Linked DNA regions of Homo sapiens: region 1 is linked to region 2. Evidence: promoter capture Hi-C in 16 types of primary human blood cells and fetal thymus (Javierre and others, 2016). All regions are on one chromosome and are shown on one strand. Each heading gives the region's core, a stretch centred on a gene start or on the middle of the fragment in contact. The rest is flanking DNA. Distances are from core to core; before and after follow the strand shown.

Region 1 (6,400 bases), core at 1,190-3,689, 270 kb before region 2:
TGTACTGATGACTGATGTTTTTAGACACACGTGTTCCTGACATGTCTCCATTAACTAGACTGTAAGTTCCTTGGAGGCAGAAATGAAGTTGTTTTCAAGTGCACCATAGCATTTAGCACAGAGATCTGACCATCATGGGCTCTCAAAAACACTTTCTCAATAATCAGTATTTTTCATTTTTATCAGAGTACATTAGCTGATCATATAAGATATTCTAGGTCCTAAACATCAGACAAGAAGAAAGAACAGACTAGTTGTTTAATACCAACTGCTTACATGAATTGGCACTTGATTTTGGGGTGATATTCAGTTAAGTGTTTTGGTGATCCCTTTTTTGAGCATCATGATGCCTAAATGAGGCTTACAGTGAGCCGCCATGCTAAGTCCTTTACATAGATGGGCTTGCTTAATTCTCACAACAATCCTATGGTGTAGGCACTTTTAAACTTCCCATTTTACAGTGAAGAATCTGATGCATCCAAATCATTAAGTAGTGGTGTTGGGAAATGAATGCAGGCATCTAACTTCAGAACTCATATTCTCACATTCCATCCGGGAGCTCATATTCCAAAACTTTCATGACTTTTCTATATGGTCATGGTAGACAACAAGTAAGAGGCTAAATTTTTCATACAAACAAACACCCAAATCTGATGGACAAAAAAAAAATCCATTGCACATTTATCCTATGCATTATGTTGCCATTCACTGGGTCATACCCATCATGATCTAGTGAATGGCAATGGTCCCTTAGTGGGAGGGTCTCAAATAAGGGTGGACGGAACTAGGAGTTAGGATTGGGTAAGGTTTCTTATCTAGGTCAGGGAGACAGGAGAGGAAGGAAAGAACACTTGGCTTGATTCTCTCTGTTGCTCCTGTTAGTTCCACTTCGGCAGTGACATTTTTAGTTTCATTTTTAGTAACGAAGAACAACACTTACTCTGTGGCCTAATTTTCGTCCTGTAAATTTGCCATCAGGTAGTTTATGCTCTTATAGGCCAAATGACTCATCACTAATTAATCAATACCCATGATGCTAAATTTTGACCACAGAGTGAACCAAAGCCAAGTCAACCTGGCTTTCAGTTAATTGGAAAAATTAAATGGGTAAGAGAAGCCAGTTCTTCCAGGTATAAATAATGTGCTTTACAACTCATCTAGTTAAAGGCATCAGCAAAAATGTTTTAATACTAGCAGATTCGAAAACCACTCCATCCTCCTTTCTAATATGTAATTAAAGCTACAGTATGAATGCAAACTTGATAGGACAGAAATAATCTCATACATTACATGTTATAAAGAATTTGATATTAAATTTTATCATGGTTATCTTCTCTTCCGAGGACAAAATGTCTCTTTGGCATGTACCTACTCACTTGTTCCAAAATATTCACTGAGTGTAAATTATGTGCCAGACACTGGGGAGGCAGACAGTGGTGAACTAGGGGATCCAGGTATATGTGCCTAACTTCCTTGTGACGTTGCACCTATTGCATGCACCTGGATGCAGGGAACAGCTTGGGGTCTCTGGCTAACTTACATTTCTCTTTAAGTATCAGCTGCAACTCCAGAAAGGCTTTCTGTCCACTTGCCCCAACCCCACCACATCTGGGTTAGAAACTCCTTCTATAATCTCCCTCAGGACCCTGTACTAACCACTGTGATTACACTGACTACAGTATCTTGCCTAATTACTTGTTTGTATCCTTCACTGAAATGTACATTCCAATGACAGGTATTCCAGTGTCCTGGGACACAGTGCATTTTTATGAAATATTTGTTGAATGTTGGAGGGAGGTAATATTTAGTATAAAGCGGTTTGATTTGGCTATGTTATCATTTGTATCCTGGTGCAGAAGTTACTGATAGGTGGTCACTGGTTTGGAAATGTCAAATCTAAAGGCTGGATCCATGCAGGTGGCAACAGCAGACATGTGCCTAGTTATGAGGCTGCTGGAAACCAACTGGTCAAGGACCATGGAAAAGTATCCAAAAAAAAAAAAGTCCAAGGAACATTTACCCAGTGAAGCACCACTCAAACATTCATGAGAGATCACGATGAAGTGATCCTTCCAGATTTCATTTTACTTTAGTAATCACTGGCCTCTATGTTACTTTGGTCGTCATCCTTTATCTTAGCTCTGGTGTTTATGTTTACTTTTTTCCTTTTAAAACACCTTTCAAAACCTGCAATTCTTCTGATAGTGTATTTATTTCTTTATTATCTTCCCCATTTGATTGCAAATTCCCTAAGGATAGGGACCCTGTTTGTGCTCTCAGTTTCCAGAACGGTTCTCAACACACCAGTGTTTGACAGATCTATTGAAGAAATGAATTAAGGGTTTAACATGCGTATTAAAAAATATTCTTTTAGACTCTAGTCCTCAAATCTCTGTACATAACACATAAACAATATGTCTATATATATGAGGAAAAACAGGTTACATCTGTTTTGCCCACAGTTGTATCACCAGAATAGAGTATGTGGCATATTGTAAGTATTCAATAAATATTCACTAAATAAATGAGTAAATAAACCATTTAATTAAAATTTTATTTCCAATTATAAACTATTGGAAAAAATTTATAGGTCTATATCAATAATAAACAAATAAAGGCCGGGCACCGTGGCTCACGTCTGTAATCCCAGCACTTCGGGAGGCTGAGGCAGGCGGATCACAAGGTCAGGAGATCAAGACCATCCTGACTAACACAGTGAAACCCCATCTCTACTAAAAAAAATACAAAAAATTAGCCGGGCGTGGTGGTGGGCACCTGTAGTCCCAGCTACTTGGGAGGCTGAGGCAGGAGAATGGCGTGAACCCGGGAGGTGGAGCTTGCAGTGAGCTGAGATCGCACCACTGCACTCCAGCCTGGGCGACAGAGCGAGACTCCGTCTCAAAAACAAAACAAAACAAAACAAAACAACAACAACAACAAAAACAAATAAGTAGGGGAGCTTTTGCTTGAAGTAGAATTCTGAGAGCTGATGGCAGATGTGAAGAGAGTGCTGACACTGGAACATCATAATATTGCAACTGTTTTATTAAAGATCAGATCAGGCAAGATTCATCAATGGATGCTAAATCTAGAGGGAAATCTTGATGAGAAACTAGATACTAGCATGTTTTAAACTGTCTCTTTCAGACTATTTATTAGTTGCAGGGGAAAAAAATTATACAATAATTACCTAGTAGGGAAATCAGAAAACACTTGTATGGCTGATTAAAGTTAACATCACCAATGAAGGACAGATGGACGTGATGTGCTTTCAGATGTGATAGCCTGAGAAGGACACAACATCTCCTATGCAACATTCCAAAGAAGAATGCATAACTTGAAAGTGATCACGAAAGGCTATCTAAAAAACCCCAAACGGGAAATGTTTCATTAAAAAAAAGTTGGGGGCGGGTGTGGCAGTAATCCATTCTTCCAAAATGTCAATGTCAGAAAAAAAAGTCAATGTCAGAAAATAAAAAGAAAGGTTGTAGAAGTATTCCCTATTGAAAGTGGGTAAAGAGACATGGCACTTAAATGCTATACCTGATGACAGACTGGATCCTGTACCACAGAGGAAAATGCTATAAAGAACATTACTGGATCAAATGACAATACTGATGTATGAAAGGTAGATAAGAAAAAAGTATTCTATCAATGTTAAATATATTGAAGTTGGAGAAATGCAAATCAAAACCACAATGAGATACCATTTCATGCCAGTCAGAATGGCGATTATTAAAAAGTCAAGAAACAATAGATGCTGGTGAGGTGGTGGAGAAACAGGAACACTTTTACACTGTTGGTGGGAGTGTAAATTAGTTCAACCATTGCTGAAGACAGTGTGGTGATTCCTCAAGGATCTAGAATCAGAAATACCATCTGACCCAGCAATCCCATTACTGGGTATATACCCAAAGGATTACAAATCACTCTACTATAAAGACACATGCACACATATGTTTATTGCAGGACTATTTACAATAGCAAAGACATGGAGCCAACCCAAATGCCCATCAATGATAAACTGGATAAAGAAAATGTTGCAAATATACACCATGGAATACTGTGCAGCCATAAAAAGGAATGAGATCATGTCCTTTGCAGGAACATGGAGAAGCTGGAAGCCATCATCCTCAGCAAGCTAACACAGGAACAGAAAACCAAACATCACATATTTGGGTATTCAGACATGAGATTATCAGGCGTGACTTACAGTTTATAATGGTACCCAAAATATGATGTTCTCACTCATAAGTGGGAGTTGAACAATGAGAACACATGGACACAGGGAGGGGAACAACACACCAGTGCCTGTTGGGGGGTGGGGGGCCAGGGGAGGGAACTTAGTTGATGGGTTAATAGGTGGAGCAAACCATCATGGCACACGTATAGCTATGCAACAAACCTGCACGTTCTGCACATGTACCCCAGAACTTAAAGTAAAATTAACATACATATATATATATATATATGTTATATAGTAGTTATATATATATGTTATATATATATATAACATATATATGTTATATATATATATATATAACTACTGGGGCTAAGTAAGAGAATATCTACATTCTTAGGAAATATGCACTGATGTTTGGCGTAAAGGGCCATCATGTATGTGACACCTTCAATTTATTAAGAAAAAAATTAAGTATATAATTATGTGTATGTAACATGTATGGAGAGAGAGAACCATGGGGTGAGGTGGGTGGGGAAAGAAATAAACCAAAAAGCCAATTGTGTGAAATGCTAACAATAAGTCTTTCTGGGAAAAGGGTGTATGGGTATTCTTTACACTCTTTTTATATTTGCAACTTATCTATAAAATTTAAATTTTTTCCAAATAAAAAGTTTTAAAAAGTGTGCAAATGTCAATATGTATAATCACAGCAAATAAAAATTATTTCATTAAAAATACTTGTATGAGTTTTAATATTTCATCTGTTTAAGAATGTGATGTTAATTTGCATGGAAATTTTTTTAAACTGTCTTCTTTTGCATACTTAAAAATTGGTTTAAATTCAAAGGTGAGAGTAGAATAAAGTCAGTGATAATGTAAAAGTTTGCAAACTATTGCCTAGTACTCAGCAGTCCCCACACTTACCAGTTCTTTGGGATCCAAAATGCTGCCCAGTGGGCATTTTTAGAATGAGAGAGACTCTGACCTGCCCCTGCCTGGACAACACCATCATTAAGGAGAAACAGGTTTCTTTCCGCAGTACAAGCCCTGGCAGCAGCCATTCCCCTCCTCCAGTGCTGCAGTCTTGCAGATGCCATCAGCCACCCTTGCCTGGTCCTGCCTGCCCCGAGTCCTGATGTGTAGTCTTGTCTAGCCCCTAGTACTCTCTTGCAGTAGCCTATGGAGGTACACTCACTTCAGTATTCAGACATGAGATTATCAGGCGTGACTTACAGTTTATAATGGTACCCAAAATATGAACACCATTTCACAATACACATTACACAAAGTGTATCCCACTCTAAAGAACAGCAATCTATGTCAAATAAAAACAGATCACCAGATTAAAGGGAAATGATAATTGCAAGTAGACAATTAAGCTTTTATTACATCAGATTAGTTCAGGCTTACAACGGCATTGAATCAGGACATCAAAAGGCATTGCCCTAGAATAAGAAGTCAGAAACCAGCACTGTCTCTCAGTATCTTCTGGAAATTATCCACATTCCACATGTGCCCTTCTGTTATCCTCCTTGGAAATACAGCCCTCTTCGTTACAAGCCTCATGTGGCTGCAATTCTTTTGGAGTTGTTGAATAAGTGATCAGAGAATGATTTCTGGTTGATAACCTGTCAGCTGTCAGCTCCAACTGCATGTCTTAAATTTAGCATCTTAAAGCCAATGTGATTTTTTTTTTCACTTGTTTGTTTCCTTGCCCAAGTTGCTTGGAATTGGAATTTACCTGGGGCTGACAGAAAAGGCTTTATTGATTTGTGCAGAAGAAAAAAAAAAGGAGAATAAGGAGATTTAGATGTAGCTCTCTGGACGATGCTGAAGCCGTGGAGGTGGTCACAAGGGCGTTTGCAGTTAATAAATGGTAGATAGGATGCTGTGTGCAAATACAATTTGTTACTCTTTTTTGTGCCTCAGTTTTCTTTATTTCAAGAAAGCATAAAGTATGAAGAGATTGCGCACGATATAAACATTTGTTTGTGGTTCCTCTTTGGTGCTGTGGTTCTTTGTGGCTGGTATAGTTGTATGAGTTTTTGTCCTGTCTATACTTGGTCTGCGGTAACTGGGTAACTGGGTAATTCGCACTTTCAGTGTGTTGGGGAGTGGATGTTGCCTCCCAAAGGCAAAAGTTACCTCTCTTCCTGTCCTCCTTACTAAACTGGCCCTGGGCTGTATCCATATTCACGCTGAGTATGACGCTGACCT
Region 2 (6,874 bases), core at 1,397-3,896:
CCAATGCATTAAACACCAGCATATAGTGAGCTTCTGCTTTTAATATAAAATATACTACCCGTTGTGATGAAAGGAAAAAGAGTTAGAAAAATCCTGTCCCTGCCCAACCCTGAGTGGTTTTATCACTTAGATCTCCACATAGTTTTTGACAATTAGGATAACAATTTTTGAGTGAAAGATAATGTTCTGAGCACAATAGAAAAAAAGGGACATATACAGACACGTGCAATCATCTTTATTACCTGTCACCTCTTCTGTGAAGCCCTGCTTATCCTTTTTTGGAGCAGTCAGAGGCCATGTCTTTTTCTTAACCATTCCTTCCTCTGTAATCCCATATTAATGAGTCCATTCTCTATTATAGCGTGATAACCTAAATGAGAGAGAATTGTATTCTTACTTGGTTAAATGGTGGGCAGGGTTCAGGTCATTTCATCTGTATGTTCCCAGAGAATGGCACAACACCTAGCACAGAAAATGCATCCAATCAATATTTATTGAATGAAATAATGCATTTAAAAATGACTGCAAATGTCAGCATCTAATTGCTTAAGATGATAGTTTAAAACTCAAGGGTGTAGTTTATACTTAAAACATGAAATGAGATCTTTAAAGTAAACCAATGTATTTTCAAAATCCTTAGTATCACAGGTTTTCTCATAGCTTTCAGAAAATAACTTCCATGCAAGATGATTTTACATTGTTTTCTGTTGATGCTTTAAAATGGCAAGGAGACAAGAAGGGGAAGTGTTCAACTGGGCTGCATGTTCCATTGTGATTTTATCAACAAAACATTATTACTGTATATTTTCAGTCTAGACATAGACATAGATCCAACAGTGCCTGTGAAATGATTATTATCATCTATGGAATGTTATTATCATCAATAATGTTTAGTTAAGAGTTTCAGCTTTTAAAAACTGTTACAGGGATTATCTCATTTAATCCTATAGCTGCTATATGTAGTGGGTACTATTCATATCACCATTTTATAGATAAGAAGAGAGGCTTAAAGAAGTTAAGTAACTTCCTTACAACCAAAATGTGACTGAATGAGAATTCAGGTAAAAATTTCCCCAAAATATTATTTATCCAAATATCTGTAACATGCTACTAAGTGCATCAGTCAGAAAATTTGTATAGCTTGATTAGCTCTGAGGTTCTCGAAGGTTGGAAATCATATATTATTTACCTTTGTATTACCAACACCAGCATTAGACACAGAATGACTAATCTATTAGACATTTGTTAATGAATGAAGTAATCTCCTTATGGGATAATAATAGTAACAATGAGAAGAAAAATAGAAATTCACAAAGTGGTGCTCTGCTTTCAGTGAGTTTTCATGAAAAGTTTAATGGTAATGAACGTTCATAAATTTGTCCAAGGTTAGAATATATTAATATGCAAATATTTAATTTGACATTTCATAAAAGAAAATTAAATAAGATGTGCAGCTAATTTATACAATTTTTTGATAAAAATACAGGGACAAGCACCCCAGATGCAGAAACATTTTAATCTCCTTGGAATTTTTGGGAGTAATATTGAGGTTGAGAACTGTATGGTCCGCCACATAAGATTTACAATCTGCAGGGTCCCTCCTTTATAAGGCCAGCCGTGCTTGTGTTCAAGGACAAAAGTTTAGCCAAATGACTTTAATCATTAGGACCTCATTTCCTGTCTGAAACAGATGAGCACCAATTATCTGCAAGATATTTTATGGTATACATGGTTAATGATTTAAGAAGTTATTTGCCAGAATATTTGAAATAAATTTACAAAATACACTTTAAGTATTGATTGAAATTAATCAACTTTTTGAAAGATACTAGGCCTGCAACAGAAGTCACGGTGAGGGTTGAGGAAGGCTAACTATTGTCACTTCTGTAGCTGAGGATAAGGCAATAAATTACTCTCTTAATTTTTAAGAAGAAAAGGCATTTTTACCATCTATGTTATTCTATGTAGAGTAGAAATTCTGGTACATCCAAAATATTAAAATTGTTTGTCTAAGAGATATTTACCAAGATAAAGACAAGAAGACTTTTTACAGAAAAAGAAATGCATCATTTTCTTCGAAATAACATTAGAGGAAAAAACCTGTGAGACATGAACAAAGACCTACTATAATGAAAAACATATTTTAAACAATAACCATTCAAATATAGTTTAACACTTAAATAATGTTCACTTTGACCAGTTTGAAAGAAGACTCTGTTTTCATTTTGGAAAGCAGTTCCAACAGGTTACCTAACAATTTGACATTTTTCTTAAAATCGCAAATTGTTGAGAAACTTCAGGAATTTTCAAGTAAGAGAATGCCCTGCTGTTTGGAAACAAGGTAACAGCAAAGCATAATCATATTGTAAAGAAACATTAACATCACTCTCAGTTTGTAAATTGGGTTTCCCCCTTACAGCTACGTAAGGCATTTTTTTCTAAAAACTGTAGTAAGATAAAAATCATTGATTAATTAAAGACAAACTTGTTTCTTATAGTGTTTAATCATCCAAATACCTTAAATCAGGTTCTTACTTACCTCAAGATTGGTGTGTCAAGCTCTCTCTTTTGTTCTTTTGGTTATGTTTTAAACCTGCATTGGGTTAGAACTTGTTCCTCTTTTTCACTTTGGTGGGTTACTTCCTTCTTTCCCTCCTTCGTTCACGCTATTTAATACTTGCAAAGTTTCCTGGCTCTAGAGGAAGTCAGTATCAGATGCAGCAGAATTAAGATAAATGGCGTGAGGTTTTGAATAAGGAAGTCTGGCCCTTCATCTTTGTCAAGTAATAGTTTTTTAACTGTGTCAGAAAATAATACGTAAAGCCTACATGGTTTTTTATTTGGGCCATATTTGCAGTTCCCACTTTAATATCAATAAAAGTCACTTCACTTGTACTTTGATTTTTTAAAAAAAGAAATATTTTAATTGTAGTAACACATAGGTCTTGGGCTTTTATTATTATTATTATTATTTACTTGTGTTGCTAGACCAGTCCTCTCTTCAAATATTAATATTATGTACCAATGCTCCCAAGTTATAGCCATACAGGTCAAATCAGTGTCCCAATTTGGGTTTGGAAAATGTTAACGTTCTTTTAAATTTATAAATAGGAATTTCCTAAGGTATGTTTTGAGGCCCATTACCCCTGAGATATGCTAGCAGCTCTTCCATCAAGTAAATGTGGGGAATACTGCTTCCCTGGAGATTCATGGGTACATCAGCATGCTAAAGGCTCTCAGCAGTCTTACAGCCAGCAAACAAAATAAAACCAAATAAGAAAAAGAAATTGTTTAACTTTGCTTAATAATAGTAGTCAGTATGTTCCTAGCACTAAGTACTCCAAACCTTTTGTGTAATACTCAGCAAATCTTGGCAACAACCCTGTGAGGGAGAAAAACTGTTATTAGTCCTATTTTACAGAAGAGGAAACAGAAGCACACAGAATGATCACTTGCCCGACAGAGCCTGCAGTTTGCCCCCAGCACCTGTGTGCTAAACCACTGCACTGGCTGCCTTGCTAGATTGAGTAACATGTTTCCCACATAGATACGCTTACCAAGAGCATCTCTTGGAGTCCAACTCATGGGAACACACACAGTGGGAGATGCTGAATTAGACAAATTACAGATGAATTCGACAGATGAGATGACAAAGTAATGGAAAATTTGTCTTTTAAGTTGTCTTGGAACTTTTTGAACCACAGAGGATTAACTTTGCATAAGGTGGTTTTAAAAAAGAGGATTTAGTTACTGAAATAACTACTGGACATTGGAAGGACAGGACGTATTATTAACACTTGCTGAGCACTGACATTATGCCAGGCATTGTGCTAAGAGATGAGGATGCAAGAGTGAATAAGCTCCCTGCAGCACTTAAAGCCAAGTAGAGAGGCTGCTGCGCCCACAGAACATTTCAGATCAAAGTGATAATGCCTAAGAAAGACAGGATTATGGACAGGGACAGTGGAGGTAAAGGAAAGAGGCATCCAGCTCAGAGGGTGGTCAGGGAAGGCAAGACCTGAGCTAAGCCTCATAGAATAAGGTGTTAAGGCAGAATAGGGGTGTCCTGGACAAAAATCTTACAGTGAAGGAGGTTATGAAGTTGTGAAGCTATGAACTTGATGTGCTCCACATTCTCACCACTATATTTAACTTCAGTATTAGCCACCCCTCCAAATAATATACACACTCACCTGCCTAGGCATACATCTGTAAGAAAGGCAATTTATACAATGTTTGTATAAAATTATGATTTTCTCTAGAAGGCAGGACAACTGGTGCTCATTCAGCTTTTGCCCTTTGAAGTTAAAAAAGTTGCTTAACCCCTTATTACTTTAGTTTTTCTAACGGAAAATAAAATGGAGGGAAAATGACTGGCACTTTCCTCAAATAGAATTTTTTTGATGTAATGGATATAATTATTCTTCAAGTTTATAAAAGAAATGCTGTATATATTCAAAATAGAATTATTGGATCATTGTCATTTGTAGGGATTATGTTTTATGTCTTGAATTCTATATTTTCCTACTTCCCAATCTTTGGCCTCGCAAAATACATATTTATTGTCTCCTTTCAGTTCCTTTTTAATCACAGCAATTATGTCTAGGTTTTCTTTTCCTGCTTTTTCTTCTACAGTTATACGGTTTGGGTAGTAAAGGGCTTAGGAAGTAGTTTATTGTTCTGTAGTGTAATATGGACTGGATCTTTCATCTAAGTAAATCTTCCTCTCCTATTAATTGGTGATAGCAACCACTTTACTTAATTGTGATTTAAGTTCCCAGCAATTTCTTGTGTGTCAGTTAGTATCCATTTCTTTTAACCCATGCCCTTTTTCAGATACTTGAACTGAGTAACATTAGTGACGGTAAAAATGAACAAATGTTTGTGTATGTGAATTTTATTTGAAAGCTTGCCAGACTAAAAGCATCTTTCTGGCTATTTTGGAAGGAGCCGCCAAACCCCATGCTACTTGTTAAGGGTATCATGGGAATTTACATTTTAGCATAAAGCATTATGTTACCTCGGAAAGGTAATGCATTTAGTAGCTAACAAATTTATTAACACTAATCGGTTTATGGGATTAACCAAAAAGTAACTAGAGTTTTAATAGAATGTGTCACTACCTTCCAACTAAAAGTTTTTCACTCTGTGGCCCAAAGAGTTATAAAAATTTTAAAGCGGCTGGGTGCAGTGGCTCACGCCTGTAATCCCAGCACTTTGGGAGGCTGAGGCGGGCAGATCATCTGAGGTCAGGAGTTTGAGACCAGCCTGACCAACATGCAGAAACTTATCGCTACTAAAAATACAAAATTAGCCAGGAATGATGCAGCATGCCTGTAATCCTGGCTACTCAGGAGGCTGAGGCAGGAGAATCACTGGAACCTGGGAGGCAGAGGTTTCGGTGAGCTGAGATAGCGCCATTGCACTCCAGCCTGGGCAACAAGAGCAAAGCTCCGTTTCAAAAAAAGAAAATTTTTTTTTAAAGCAAAAAAACTGAGCAGCTAAAGATGAAGAGAGAAAACATGAATAGGAACAGGTAAAAATAAAACCATTGTTGCTTTAGTTATGCTTAGGGCCAATCCTGGTAGCAGTTGGCAAACTTAAATCACATAATTTGTAGAGTGTAGGGGATGGATTTTACTGAAATGGGTCTCAGATGTTCATCAAGAGATTCATTCCCAAACTTGAATGTTTATCAAAATCATTTATGAAGTTTTAAACAAATACGTAAATTTCTAGGACCTTGAAGATTCTCCTTCATTACTTCTGGAGTGGGGCCCAGAGATCTTTATTTTAAAACCTTAGAACAACATTTAGGAATTTATGGGTAGGAAAATGAGATATTATGCAGACTGTGAGGGGAAAGATGTTTACATTTTATTTTACAGTCTTTTGTGTTATTTGATATTTTCCACTAACATATGCCACTTTTGTAACAAAACAAACTTTAAAGCCTCCCCAAGTGATTCTGATTTGCAGCCATGTTTGGAAACCACTGATGCAAATTAACCCCCTGGCTGAAGTGCAGATAACTGATGTGATTTAATCCATAGCCTCCAGCCTAGAAAGCAGAAGCCTGGTCTGGATATAAAAATCCAGTCCCTTCATTCTGACCCAGCACTTCTCTGTTGTACTACAACACTATCTCAATGCGGAATAGATGAGAAAAACATTCTTAGATGTCCCCTTCAATAGTCTATCTTTTTTTTTCTTCTTCTTCTTCTTATATCATGAGGAGTTGGGGAGATATACATACACAAATAACAAGAAGTTGGGGAGAAGGAAAAAGGAGAGCAAAATCCATCAGGGTTCCCATAGGAATGAGCTACGAAAAGCATAACCCTACTGGCGGACCCTTTTAAGACATGAAATTTGCCACCTGGAACACTTCTCTGGCCTAAAATGATAAACATTATTATGGTTCATATGACAACTTAGAAAGGTTAAATTATGGTCTGGGACTAAAAGAGAAGATGCCGAAAGAAAAAGTAAAAAGACCCAGGAATTTCATTCATTGAGTGTACACACCCAATAGAAATAAGTATCACTTCTTTTTATAACAGCTTTAGGCATAATAACTCAAGGCTCTAGAAATAACCCAAAGGTCCATCAATAGTAAAATGAGTGAGTAAAGCATAGTAAATTCATGTGATGGAATACTACACAGAAATGAAAAAGAACAAACTATAATACTAATATACACAACATCAGGATGAAGCTCACAAACAATGCAGAATTAAAGAAGCCACATACACAACACTATACACTGTATGATTCCATTTATATGAGATCAAAATTACATAAAACTTATCTATGGATATATGATAGAGGTCAGAAGAGCTGTGGTTACTATAGATCTAGTGATGCATCAGAG

Evidence for each region. The method cuts DNA at HindIII sites, captures the fragments that hold promoters and counts their contacts. A CHiCAGO score of 5 or more calls a contact.
Region 1: a contact is called between a fragment that was not itself captured here and the fragment with the promoter of GAPT in region 2, in 2 of 17 cell types (neutrophils and M1 macrophages). The highest score is 5.8, in neutrophils.

What each region holds. Positions count from the first base shown.
Region 1 is chr5:58,754,460-58,760,859 of GRCh38, reverse strand. All of the region lies in intron 3 of RAB3C (RAB3C, member RAS oncogene family), which reads right to left. Among named protein-coding and RNA genes, the nearest start is that of RAB3C, 170 kb to the right of the region's middle. The HindIII fragment of the contact is 6,251 bases long and covers 1-5,564 here.
Region 2 is chr5:58,487,207-58,494,080 of GRCh38, reverse strand. GAPT (GRB2 binding adaptor protein, transmembrane) reads right to left here and starts at 2,646. Exons shown (of 3, transcript NM_001304431.2): 1 at 2,540-2,646; 2 at 243-370. The HindIII fragment of the contact is 6,945 bases long and covers 1-4,910 here.